Linked DNA regions of Homo sapiens: all the other regions are linked to region 4. The links are contacts of gene promoters, found by promoter capture Hi-C in blood cells and fetal thymus (Javierre and others, 2016). All regions are on one chromosome and are shown on one strand. The core of a region is centred on a gene start or on the middle of the fragment in contact, and the rest is flanking DNA. Distances in the headings are between cores, read along the strand shown.

Region 1 (2,772 bases), core at 206-2,705, 200 kb after region 4:
GTTGCACCACTGCACTCCAGCCTGGGAGAAAGAATGAGACTCTGTCTAAAAAAAAAAGAAAAAGAAAAAATGCTCAATATCACTAATTATCAGGAAAATGTAAATCAAAACAACAGTGAGATACCACCTTACCCTGGCAAGAATGGCCATAATTTAAAAATAAAAAAAATAACAGATGTTAGCATGGATGTGGTGAAAAGGGAACACTTATACACTGCTGGTGGGAATGTAATCTAGTACAACCACTATGGAAAACAGTATGGAAATTCCTTAAAGAACTAAAAGTAGAACTACCATTTGACCCAGCAACCCCACAACTGGGTATCTACTGAGAGTAAAAGAAGTCATTATATGAAAAAGACACTTGTACATGCATGTTTATAGCAGCACAATTCACAATTGCAAAAGTATGGAACCAGCCTAAACGTCCATCAACCAACAAGAGGATAAAGAAACGAGTGGTATATATATGAATACTAATCAGCCATATACCACATTATATATATATGGTGTGTGTATATATATATACACACACACACACACACCATTATACATATAATGGTATATATATTATTTTATATATATGGTGTATCTATATATTCCATACATATGGTGTATATATATATATATATTCCATATATATAATATATATGGAATGGAATACTACTCAGCCATAAAAAGAAGTGAAATAATGCTATTTTCAGTAACCTGGATAGAGTTGGAGATGATTATTCTAAGTGAACTCAGGAATAGAAAACCAAACATCATATGTTCTTACTTATAAGTGAGAGCTAAGCTATGAGGACACAAAGGCATAAGAATGATATAATGGACTTTGGGGACTCAAGGGTAAGGGTGGGAGTGGGGGAGGGATAAAAGGCTACACACATTGGGTACAGTGTACACTTCTCAGGTGACAAGTGCACCAGAATCTCAGAAATCACCACTAAAAAATTTTTCCATGCAACCAAACACCACCAGTTCCCAAAAACTTTTGAAATACATTTTTAAAGTAATTTAAAAAAATTAGATAGATTTTTCTATAAGATTTTATTAAGAACTAGGTTTGACATCAATAGTACACTAATGCAAAGGTGAATTTTGGCTTTCTCTGTTGAATAAGATTCTTTGTAATATGAGGAAAATAATGAAAGATTTTTGTTTCCTCTTTGAATAAACTACATGAAAAAGAGTGGAAAGCAAAAAGACAGATTGTTTGGAAAGCTCAGTCTTCCTTCTATCAATGAGTAAATGTTTTTGCCTTTTTAAAATCTTTAAATTATCATTTTAGCAAAATAAATGACTTACAGTGACCTGGGATTCTATTTTATAATATCAAGCGTTTTGAACCTTTGATATTTGACAAACTTCCCAAAATCAAATTATAAATTATGTCTTTTTCTGATCTAATTGATCTTTTAGATATTGGGTTGCCTAAAGTCCAAAGATGACATATATTTGACTTATTTGGTATATTAAAATCATACAGGAAGCATTGTTGGGTATGAAATGGTGTTTGGCTTTCTTTGGGCTGTATTTGTATAGATGTGTTATTGGTATGTGTTCCAAAATTATGGGAAGCTCCTATAATTCTGATATGACTTAGTATATATTGTCAGGAATAATTATGATTGTTTTGTTGATTATTGTGTGCCACAGAGGTAACCAAATTTCCTTGTCAATTGTGTCTTTGAGTATGGCTGTCCTAAGTCTTTTTGTCATCCACAGACAATATTTGTCTTGTTTTGATCCTCTTTAAAAGGAGGTGTAGGCCGGGCATGGTGGCTCACACTTATAATCCCAGCACTTTGGAAGGCTGAGGTGGGCTGATCACAAGGTCAGGAGATTGAGACCTTCCTGGCTAACATGGTGAAACCCTGTCTCTACTAAAAATACAAAAAAATTAGCCAGGCATGGTGGTGGGTGCCTGTAGTCCAGCTACTTGGGAGGCTGAGGCAGGAGCATGGCATGGACTCAGGAGGTGGAGCTTGCAGTGAGTCAAGATCATGCCACTGCACTCCAGCCGGGGTGAGAGAGCAAGACTCTGTCTCAAAAAAAAAAAAAAAAAATGGTGGTGTATAATCAGTTATAGGACTCTGACAAGTGCCTTTGAATGTAGATCTCTGATGACTTTGGAAAGTGTGCCATGAAAATAGAGAAGAAATAACTTCCAAGACTCTCTTGGAAAACTACTGTGTTCATGAATGTCAAACAGAAGAGGAATTAATTGCATAGACTGAACTAGTAAAAGATTGAAATAGTTTTTTCATGACTTCCTGCTTGAAATACTGTTGATCCTTTCTGTTTTGTTTTTCAGAGTCAAGAAAACTTTTTGGGGGTTGCTATTTACAGCTTTTGGCAATTGAGTGGAGTATATGCCTATGAGCAAAATTTGGAGCATATCTCCTTCTACCTGATTTCTCCAGAATTTGAAAACTATTCATGAGTATTCTTAACTTATGGCAATATAGTTATTTACGTAAGTGCAATAATAATCTGTTTTCTTTGTAACAGGACACAATTGGAGAAACTGGTTATTTTACCAGGGCCTTGGCTGGAATGGTATTCTTTTAAATATAAACAGACTGCTTTAAGGAATCAAAGTTGACTTATAGAGCCAATGAAAGCCCCTAGGGAAAGCTAGCCTCATTCCTTGTCTACACAGTCTCTGTCCAAGGTTCCTGACCTGCGGTAGATGAAGAATAAAGAATGTCACTTTCTGACAGGCCCAGGAGCTGCAAGTTATCTTGGGACCTCAAGAGGTGAGGAATT
Region 2 (3,069 bases), core at 566-3,065, 230 kb after region 4:
GAATCACTTGAACCCAGGAAGCAAAGGTTGCAGTGAGTAGAGATAATGCCACTGCACTCCAGCCTGGGTGATAGAGCGAGACTGAAAAAAAAAAAGAAAAAGAAAAAAGGGAAGAAAGAAAAAAGAGAGAAAGAGAAGGAGGGAGGAAGGGAGGGAGGAAGGAAGAAACTATGCCTACATTTTGGCAGATTCAGGTCCCTCCCAGAATCCTAATCTTGTGGCCTTTTGCTGGTTTTACAAAGATGGTTTCAGTCCCTGAACAAGGAGGGAGTTAGTTTTATAGAGAGGCTATTATCATCCCCACTTCAAAGTTAAAATATAAACTAAATTTCTCCCATGGTTAGCTGACCCACACCCAGGAATGAGCAAGGATAGACTGTGAGGCCAGCAGCAAGATGGAGTCAGCCATGCTAGACATCTGTCACTGTCATAATATTCGCAAAGGTGATTTCACTTTTCCCCTCACTCAGACACACAGCTCCTGGTCCCTGGTGAAGTGTCAGTTGATGAATGAGTGAGCAAATGAGTGAATGAATGAATGAATGTACGTTAAATCAACCTATTGTCCTGGGGGGTCTCCTGGGGTAGGAACGGCTGGAGACAGGGAAGCTCAGGTATATCACCCACAGGACCAACCTCAGGCATACAGCCTCTTTCATTCCATTTAAGCCCAAAGCAAACACTTACCTTCATGTGGCAACCAATGGCCTCCCCCAGCCAGTTCCTCAGGACCTGAGGGTGCTACAATCTCCCAAACTGCCCTTATGCCAAGGACTTCTGCCAAAAGGTGGCATCACTTGGCTTGTGTTTTGGATTTCAGTATTATTTGTTTTTACCCCTGCTCATGACCTTTCATAATGTCTGAAACATGATATTCCCAGAAGATTTGCTCATTCCTCTATTTTTAGGAAAATATTATAGGGGCAGAAGGAAAACTTCTGAAGATTCACTGAAAAATCAACTTACAAAAGTCAGATGAATTGGAGGAAAGGCATACAAAATGTAACAACGTGTATATGGGGAGCATCACTGAGTGATTACCCAACCCACCAATGGGGTGCAGAAGCTTCTATGTGAGCTCAGAGCATGGTCAAAATAAGGCTACGGTGATGAATCCAGTTATGGGAGGGAGGGGAATGAGAGTTGGCTAGCAAAGAGAGTCTTGTTATGTAAATAAAACCTCATAGGTAGAAACCCTCAGAAAGAATAGATGCTAAATGTTTCTTTAGACCTTTAAAAGTGACAAATTCTAAGTTTGTCTTTCCTGAATTCTGACAAGGGAGAGCCTGGCTTCCTCTATGCAGATTCTCTGTAGATGCAAATTTTCCCCACAAAAGACAGCTTTGCAGGGCTACTTCTGCAGGCTGGCTCTCTGGCAGCCATCTCAACATACGTCAAACAAATGTATTTTAGGGTACAATATTTTTATTTCCTTCAATATCAAAAAATAATGTGCTATTTCTGTAACTGCATTTTGTCTGTTAGTTCAATAGTGGTGTCACGTGTTGTCTTGTTTATTAACTATAAACCAGTGGTTCTAACCTGGGGAGTGGGTGGGTAATTTTGCCCTTGAGGGGATATTTAACAATATCTGAATAATTTGGTGGGAGGCAGTGCTAGGAGCATCTAGTGGGTAGAGGCCAGGGAAGCTGCTAACATCCTGCAATGCAGAGGATAGCCCTCACCATAAAGAATTATCTGTCTCAAAACATCAGTGGTGTTGAGGTAGAGGCACCGCTCTATAACCTAAGAGAAGAAAGGTAGTCATCACTGTTAAATGGTAATTTTCAAAAAAGGCAAATTCATGACTCTCATACAGATATAAAAATGAACCCGTGATAAAGATTTTCTTTTACTCATGAGGGAAGCAGACAAATACTATAGCCCGTTTAAAAGAAACTCCAAAGAGCAAATTTATGGATCAGTTGTATGAAAATTGATATGCCAATTGAGGCAAACTGATTTTCCCACAGTGGGAGGGAAGTTAATTGAACCTCCAGCAGACGGGACATGATTTGCATCCTACACTGCGGAGTGGGTGGGTGATTTACAGTGATTTACAGAACTGTAAAATAGATCCCATGGAACCGGAATCATACAGAATGGTGTTCTGCGAACTACATCAGGGCAAAACACTGAGGCTTGTCAGAATTAAATGTTTGCTCCATCAAGGTCAGTTTAAAGTCACTTGAGAATGAAGAACTAACTCAAAGAAAAGTTTCAACATCAGAGTATTATTTTTATTTTTATTTTCTTAGTAGAGTCTCATTCTTTTGCCCAGGCTGGAGTGCAGTGGCACGATCTTGGCTCACTGCAACCTCCAGCTCCCATATTAAAGCGATTCTCCTGCTCAGCCTCCCAAGTAGCTGGGATTACAGGCATCTGCCACCATGCCCAGATAACTTTTGTGTTTTTTTGTGGCAATGGGGTTTCACCATGCTGGCCAGGATGGTCTCAAACTCCTGACCTTGGGTGGTCTGCCCGCCCTGGCCTCCCAAAGTGCTGTAATTACAGGCGTGAGCCACGATCCCTGGCCTCATCTGGTTGTTCAGAGTAGACTTTCTGAAGCTTCAATGTGCATATGATCACCTGGGATCTTCATGTCTAGGATGAAGTTTGAGTCTTGGTGTTTGTAACAAGCTCCCAGGTCAGGCCAGCCAATACTACCAGTTGATGGACACACTTTGAGTAGCTAAGGTTGGAGAAAAGAAATTTCTTTGTTACAAAGTAAGGAAACCAAAGACAGAAACACTACAAATAGGTTATAGATCTCATCAGTCTCTTGAGCTAAGAAATAAGCCTTTGAAATCCTTAAAACACCCAAGGCATCAGAATTTGCAGGACATGGACCAGACCAGGATACTGGGACTTCTCTTTGGTGTGGAAGACCAGTACAAACAAAAAAGATGTAGTCACCCAACAGGTTCTTCCTGCTACTGCACAGACAAAGCCAGTTCACTGAGTCCATGGTATTGCAGCAAAGAAAGAGTTTAACTTGAGGCCAGCCACATGGGAGAACTCAAGTCAGTCTCCCCACAGATTCAGAAGCTAGAGTTTTTCAAGGATAGT
Region 3 (2,828 bases), core at 322-2,821, 250 kb after region 4:
AGAGAAAGTATGCACACACACACACACACACACACACACAGACACAGACACACAGAAACACAGACACACAAACACACATACACACAGAAACACAGACACAGACCCCCACACACGGACACACAGACACACATATATGATACTTCTTGTCTCATCTGGGATGGGGTTTTTGCCAGATGGGTACAACACTAAGAAAAAATGAGCTTGGGAGTTGGTTCTGTGAACACCTAGCTGGTTTGAGAAGAAAACAGAAAGGTGAGGGCTGAGGGAGTGGGAGAAACAGAGGCCGCGGCACCACTCCCAACCAGGTGGCACCAAGAGCCAGCGTGGCAGAGGAGGGGGGAGGTGCGGGAAGCAAACTGCGGGAGAAGAGGTCGCACTGAGAGAGTGCCGCTGCTGACTTAGGGATGTGCAGTCTTTTGAATGATTGCTATTTTCCAGATCCTGTAATAGACTAAATGATACCCCAGAGAAATTCGAATAATAGTGATGACACGTCCACAGGGGGCAGATTTACCAAGAAACCTAAGCTGTAAGGCCTGTCACCTGTAAGCCCTGGGAGGGGCCCTAGCAGTTTTTATGTTTGTTATTTTGCATATATGCACAAGCTTCAGGGACAAAACTTAGGTCCACCCACGGGCCCCTCCCCAGGCCTTGGAAAAGGACATGCACATAAGGAACACCACAGTCAAAGTTTCCTCAGCATCACGCCATCTCCATCCCGTCATGACATCTAACTGCACTGAAAGAAATGAGCATCTAGCTGAGGTTAAGTTTCTGCACATGTGCGTATGTGTATTGCATAGACTTTAAGGTGGCCCCATGACCCCTGTGACTTGCTCCTAACCAACAGAATATGACCAACGTGATGCAGTGTGACTCTCAGGATTATGTAGTTATATAAGACTTGGTCTGTTTGAAAGATTTGAAGAAGCCAGCTACCCTGAGGTCTACATCTTTCCACAGCCTTGGTGAGTTTGGATGGAGACCCTTACCCATGGGAGTCTCGAGATGAGAACGCAGCCCTGGTCAGGACCCTGATTGCAGTTTTGCTGAGGACCCAGCTAGGCTGTGCCCAGACACCTGCCCCACAGAAACATAATAAATGTGTGTTGTTTTAAGCCATTGAGTTTACGGTAATTTGTTATGCAGCATAAAAAAATGGATACAATAAGTAAACATAAGGATAATAGTCCTTGCTTTGCTGGGTTGATGTGAGGATTGTATGGGATATGTGAAGGTGGTGCTATGGTGTGAATGACTGTGTCCCTCCCTCCAAAATGCAGGTGTTGGAACCTAATCCTCAACGTGGTGGTAGGTTTACCACCTGAAGCAGAGAACAGCCCTCACCAGATACTGAACCAGCTGGTGCCTTAACATTGGACTTCCAGCCTCCAGAACTGTGAGATGTAAGTTTCTGTTCTTTATAAATGACCCAGCCTCAGGCATTTTGTTATAGCAGCAGGAACAGACTAAGATAGTGGCCAACACAATTCCAGGTGCCTGGTAATGCTTCCCTTCTGCCCCTTCAGGGACAGAAGTTCTAGAAAGAAGCAATAGGTCTAGTGAGAAGCAACTCATCCCAACTCTATTAGAGTTGACTTAGAGGCCCAGGCCAATTTAGTTGGTGGGACAGTAAGTGTTTTAGAAGTAGACTTGGGTTCAGATCATGGCTCCATTACACCCCAGCTGTATGATTCTGGGGAAGTGTTGTGCTGGACCCCTGTTGATTCCAATAGGGATGGTGCCCTGTCCGAGAGGCTGAAGAAGAGATCCAGAGCTAGTAGACCAGACTGTTGATTGAGGACCCACATACGGGGCAGTCCAGGAACGGGGGGCTAGACATGAGAACTGCTATTGTTTGAAAAAGCATGCAGTTTATATGGCAATTTTCACTTCCCACCCTCCATCTATCAACCTCTGTTTAAACCAAAACAAAGGCTTCAATCCCCTGTACACCTGTGTTCCAAGGAATGGACCAGGGGTTCGGATGTCCCTCATAGATAAGGAGTGAGTCTCTGGGTTGGCCACTCCCAGACACACATTCTTCTTAGACCACAGGGTCATTCTCAGGGTGTGCTTAAGTTACTGCTGTCAGTTGCATCTGCCATACAGGAAGTCACTTAACCACCTTGACTGGTGCAGTCTTCACCTGCAAAGGAAACATGTACTTAACTTCCCAGGGGACAGAGGAAACCAAAGCAGATAAAAATACATAGAAACCATTTTGTGTAGTCGCTGGCATGGAATAAGAGCTCAACAAAGGTCCTTTCCCTTAGTCTCTTGCATTTCAGGACCACAAACTCTCCACCTGGAAGCCCCTGTCCTATCCTGCTGCACCCCTGCACCGCCCTGCTCATCTGCCCTTCTCCACTCTTCTCTGGAAAACCCTCCTGCCTTGGCCCAGCTCCATTCTTTCCAGGGCTCCTTCTTAGAGGATGTGCTTTGGGAAGGAGCTCGTTAGTGCACTCAAACCAAGGGGTTCACAGTCCATGATTTAATATGAGGGGTTCCCTGGGGCACTTGGCTTTTCGCAGGGCTTAAGCTTTCAACCTGAGGATGAATCTTTAATGACAGTACTTCAACACTTGGGACAGAACCCTAGGGGATGGTGATGAGCAGTCGGTCTTCACTATGCACTTTGGACCCTGCACTGAGCCCCATGGCCTACTCTTCCTGGGCTAAGCATTGTGCTGGAGTGGACGGGACCATCAGCCTGAAACCATGAACACACCCAGTCACTGGGCAGAAATGAGAGGTGGCACACACTTCCGACCCAGCTGCTCAGAGGCGAAGTGATATTTCACGCCTGAAATGTTCATCTCATAAAA
Region 4 (2,837 bases), core at 105-2,604:
TATGGGCACTGGCCAACATCCAACGCCTGGGACATAAACTGCACCCAATGGTATGTGAACTGTACTTTACAGTTTGCACGGTGTGTTCTGGTATTTGCTAAATCTTCACACATGCTCAGGTGGCAGTACGTTTTAATGATACAGGCGAGGGAACTGGGGCTCAGAAAGGTCTAGTGCCTTGCGCATGGGAGACTCAAGTGGTAGAACCGGTGGCCGGGCTCCGGGCTCTGAGCGGAAAGCCTGCAGGACTCGGAATCCTGAAGACCTGGGTTTAAACCCGCTCAGCTAGGGACTGGGTGAGGCATCGCAGGCAAGTGACTTCACCTCCCAGCGCCGGTGCCCTAGTCTTCACCGAAGACAGCAATTCCAATCTGGGACTGTGGTGAGGCTTAAATAAAACACTGCTCAGTAAGTGGCCAGCAGGCCTGGCTCGCAGCCGGAACTATAAATGTGAGTTCCCTTTCTGACCCCCAGGTTTGGCGAGGGCTCCTCCTGTTTGGGCAGCAGCTCCTCCTGAGCTCCCGAGGCCACGGGGGTGCCAACTGTGGAGCGCCCGCCGTGCCGTTTAGACGCGAGAGCTGCGTCGGGTACCAGCGATCCTTAAAGGAGCTCGGGGACCAGGGGCACAGCTTGGAGAGGACAGCGAGGGAGGTGACTGGCCTCGGGGAGGCGGGCGGTGGATGGAGAGGCATGAGAGGGGTGTTGTCAGCCGCGGCACACGCCTTCCCCAAGTGGCCGGCGCCGCCCCTTGCCACCACTTCACCTCCGCCTCTTCCCTTCCTCCCTAGCTCCTGGCAGCGTCTCTAGGGCCTCAAAAAGCAAGGAGGGTCCCCGGGCAGCGAGGCCCCATGGATCCAGCCTGCGCCTGCTCCCAAGGGCGCGCAGGTCCCGCCCCTGCCGGGCGCCCGCCCCCCGGGGAGCGCAAGCCCCCGCCCCTTCCCTCGCCCCTCCCCTGCACGGCGCCGGCTGGCTGGAGGCGGGGCATGCGCACGGGCCTGGGCGAGGGCGCTGGGCGGCGGGGAGGTGGGGCGCGCGCGTGCGGCTTCTCTCAGCCGGGAGCGGCGGGGGCGGGCACGGGCAGCAGCGGGCCGGCGGTGGGCGGGGAGCGGGACGCGGGAGCCGGGCGCGCGCCGCCAGCGCCGCCGCGGCACCGGTGACCGCGAGCCCGGAGCGCGAGGTCCGGGGATGCGAGCGGCCGGGAGCCGCCGCGCTGCTGAGCCGGGAGAACTCGATCCGCGGTGACCTCAGCGAGGGGCGAGCGCGGCGGCGGCGAGCCCCGCGGGAATCCTCGGGGCCGGGGTGCGGGGGGCGGGGACGGCGGGAGCGCGGGGCGCAGCCCGGGCGGGGCTGGGACAGTGATGAGAGAGCGCGCGGGGAGGCTGCACGCCGCCGCCGCCGCCGCCGCCGCCGTCGTCGTCCGGAGCATCTGCTGCCTGAGCTGCTGCCGGCGGACCCGGCCATGGAGACACTGAACGGCCCCGCGGGCGGAGGTGCCCCGGACGCGAAGCTGCAGCCGCCCGGCCAGCACCACCGCCACCACCACCTCCACCCGGTGGCCGAAAGGCGGCGGCTGCACCGTGCGCCCTCGCCCGCCAGACCCTTCCTCAAGGACCTGCACGCCCGGCCCGCCGCGCCCGGCCCGGCCGTCCCCTCCTCGGGCCGAGCCCCGGCTCCCGCCGCCCCGCGCTCGCCCAACCTCGCGGGCAAAGCGCCGCCCTCGCCGGGGTCCCTGGCCGCGCCCGGCCGCCTCTCTCGGCGCAGTGGCGGCGTCCCGGGCGCGAAGGACAAGCCCCCGCCGGGCGCCGGGGCCAGAGCGGCGGGCGGTGCCAAGGCTGCCCTGGGAAGCAGGAGGGCGGCGCGCGTGGCGCCCGCGGAGCCGCTGTCCCGGGCTGGGAAGCCTCCCGGAGCCGAGCCGCCGTCTGCCGCTGCCAAGGGCCGCAAAGCCAAGCGCGGCTCCCGGGCGCCACCCGCCCGCACCGTCGGCCCCCCGACCCCGGCCGCCCGGATCCCTGCCGTGACCCTCGCGGTGACCTCGGTGGCCGGGTCCCCGGCCCGCTGCTCGCGCATCAGCCACACGGACAGCAGCTCCGACCTCTCTGACTGCCCCTCCGAACCCCTGTCCGACGAGCAGCGCCTGCTCCCTGCCGCCAGCAGCGACGCCGAATCCGGCACGGGCTCCAGCGACCGTGAACCCCCACGAGGAGCGCCGACGCCGAGCCCCGCAGCCCGAGGAGCGCCGCCGGGCAGCCCCGAGCCCCCAGCGCTCCTCGCCGCGCCCCTCGCCGCGGGCGCCTGTCCCGGGGGCCGGAGCATCCCGAGCGGGGTTTCGGGGGGTTTCGCGGGGCCCGGCGTGGCGGAGGATGTCCGGGGGCGCTCGCCACCGGAGCGACCAGTCCCCGGGACCCCCAAGGAGCCCAGCCTGGGCGAGCAGTCTCGGCTCGTGCCAGCGGCGGAGGAAGAAGAGCTGCTGCGGGAGATGGAGGAGCTGCGCTCGGAGAACGACTATCTCAAGGTGAGCCGCGCCTCGGCCGCAGGTGTCCCGGGGCGCCCCCGGAGGGCCTGGCTGCGGCGGGGACCCGCCAACCCCTCCTTCCCGGGCCTGTCCAGCGCCTTCTCCCTCCTGCTCTCCACGGTCCTACCCCCGCATTGTCAGGCATTGGCAACTTAAGCCCAAACTTCTGGAAGGAGAAGCAAGACCTGTGGGACCCCGCCAGTTCGCAACCCACTTCTCTTTTCTCGCGTCTAGAACTCTTGCGTCTCTTCGCTGATACTTTTACTTTTGTTGACCTGTTGGGGCAGAGGAGGCTGTAATCGTTTTGGGGACATCAGCGGACGCC

What was found. The method cuts DNA at HindIII sites, captures the fragments that hold promoters and counts their contacts. A CHiCAGO score of 5 or more calls a contact.
Region 1: a fragment that was not itself captured here is called in contact with the fragment with the promoter of MTCL1 in region 4 in 2 of 17 cell types (total B cells and naive B cells); the score reaches 6.8 in total B cells.
Region 2: a fragment that was not itself captured here is called in contact with the fragment with the promoter of MTCL1 in region 4 in 1 of 17 cell types (total B cells); the score reaches 6.7 in total B cells.
Region 3: a fragment that was not itself captured here is called in contact with the fragment with the promoter of MTCL1 in region 4 in 4 of 17 cell types (total B cells, naive B cells, megakaryocytes and 1 more); the score reaches 8.8 in total B cells.

The regions. Positions count from the first base shown.
Region 1 is chr18:8,906,601-8,909,372 of GRCh38, forward strand. No RefSeq gene overlaps it. Among named protein-coding and RNA genes, the nearest start is that of NDUFV2, 190 kb to the right of the region's middle. The HindIII fragment of the contact is 3,839 bases long and covers 1-2,772 here.
Region 2 is chr18:8,930,130-8,933,198 of GRCh38, forward strand. No RefSeq gene overlaps it. Among named protein-coding and RNA genes, the nearest start is that of NDUFV2, 170 kb to the right of the region's middle. The HindIII fragment of the contact is 1,502 bases long and covers 1,065-2,566 here.
Region 3 is chr18:8,949,622-8,952,449 of GRCh38, forward strand. No RefSeq gene overlaps it. Among named protein-coding and RNA genes, the nearest start is that of NDUFV2, 150 kb to the right of the region's middle. The HindIII fragment of the contact is 1,937 bases long and covers 604-2,540 here.
Region 4 is chr18:8,704,202-8,707,038 of GRCh38, forward strand. It overlaps MTCL1 (microtubule crosslinking factor 1), which reads left to right and starts at 1,355. Exons shown (of 15, transcript NM_001395333.1): 1 at 1,355-2,512. The coding sequence starts at 1,460. The region is part of intron 1 of GACAT2 (gastric cancer associated transcript 2); the gene reads right to left. RefSeq lists silencers at 700-1,139, 1,520-1,579. The HindIII fragment of the contact is 5,801 bases long and covers 1-2,837 here.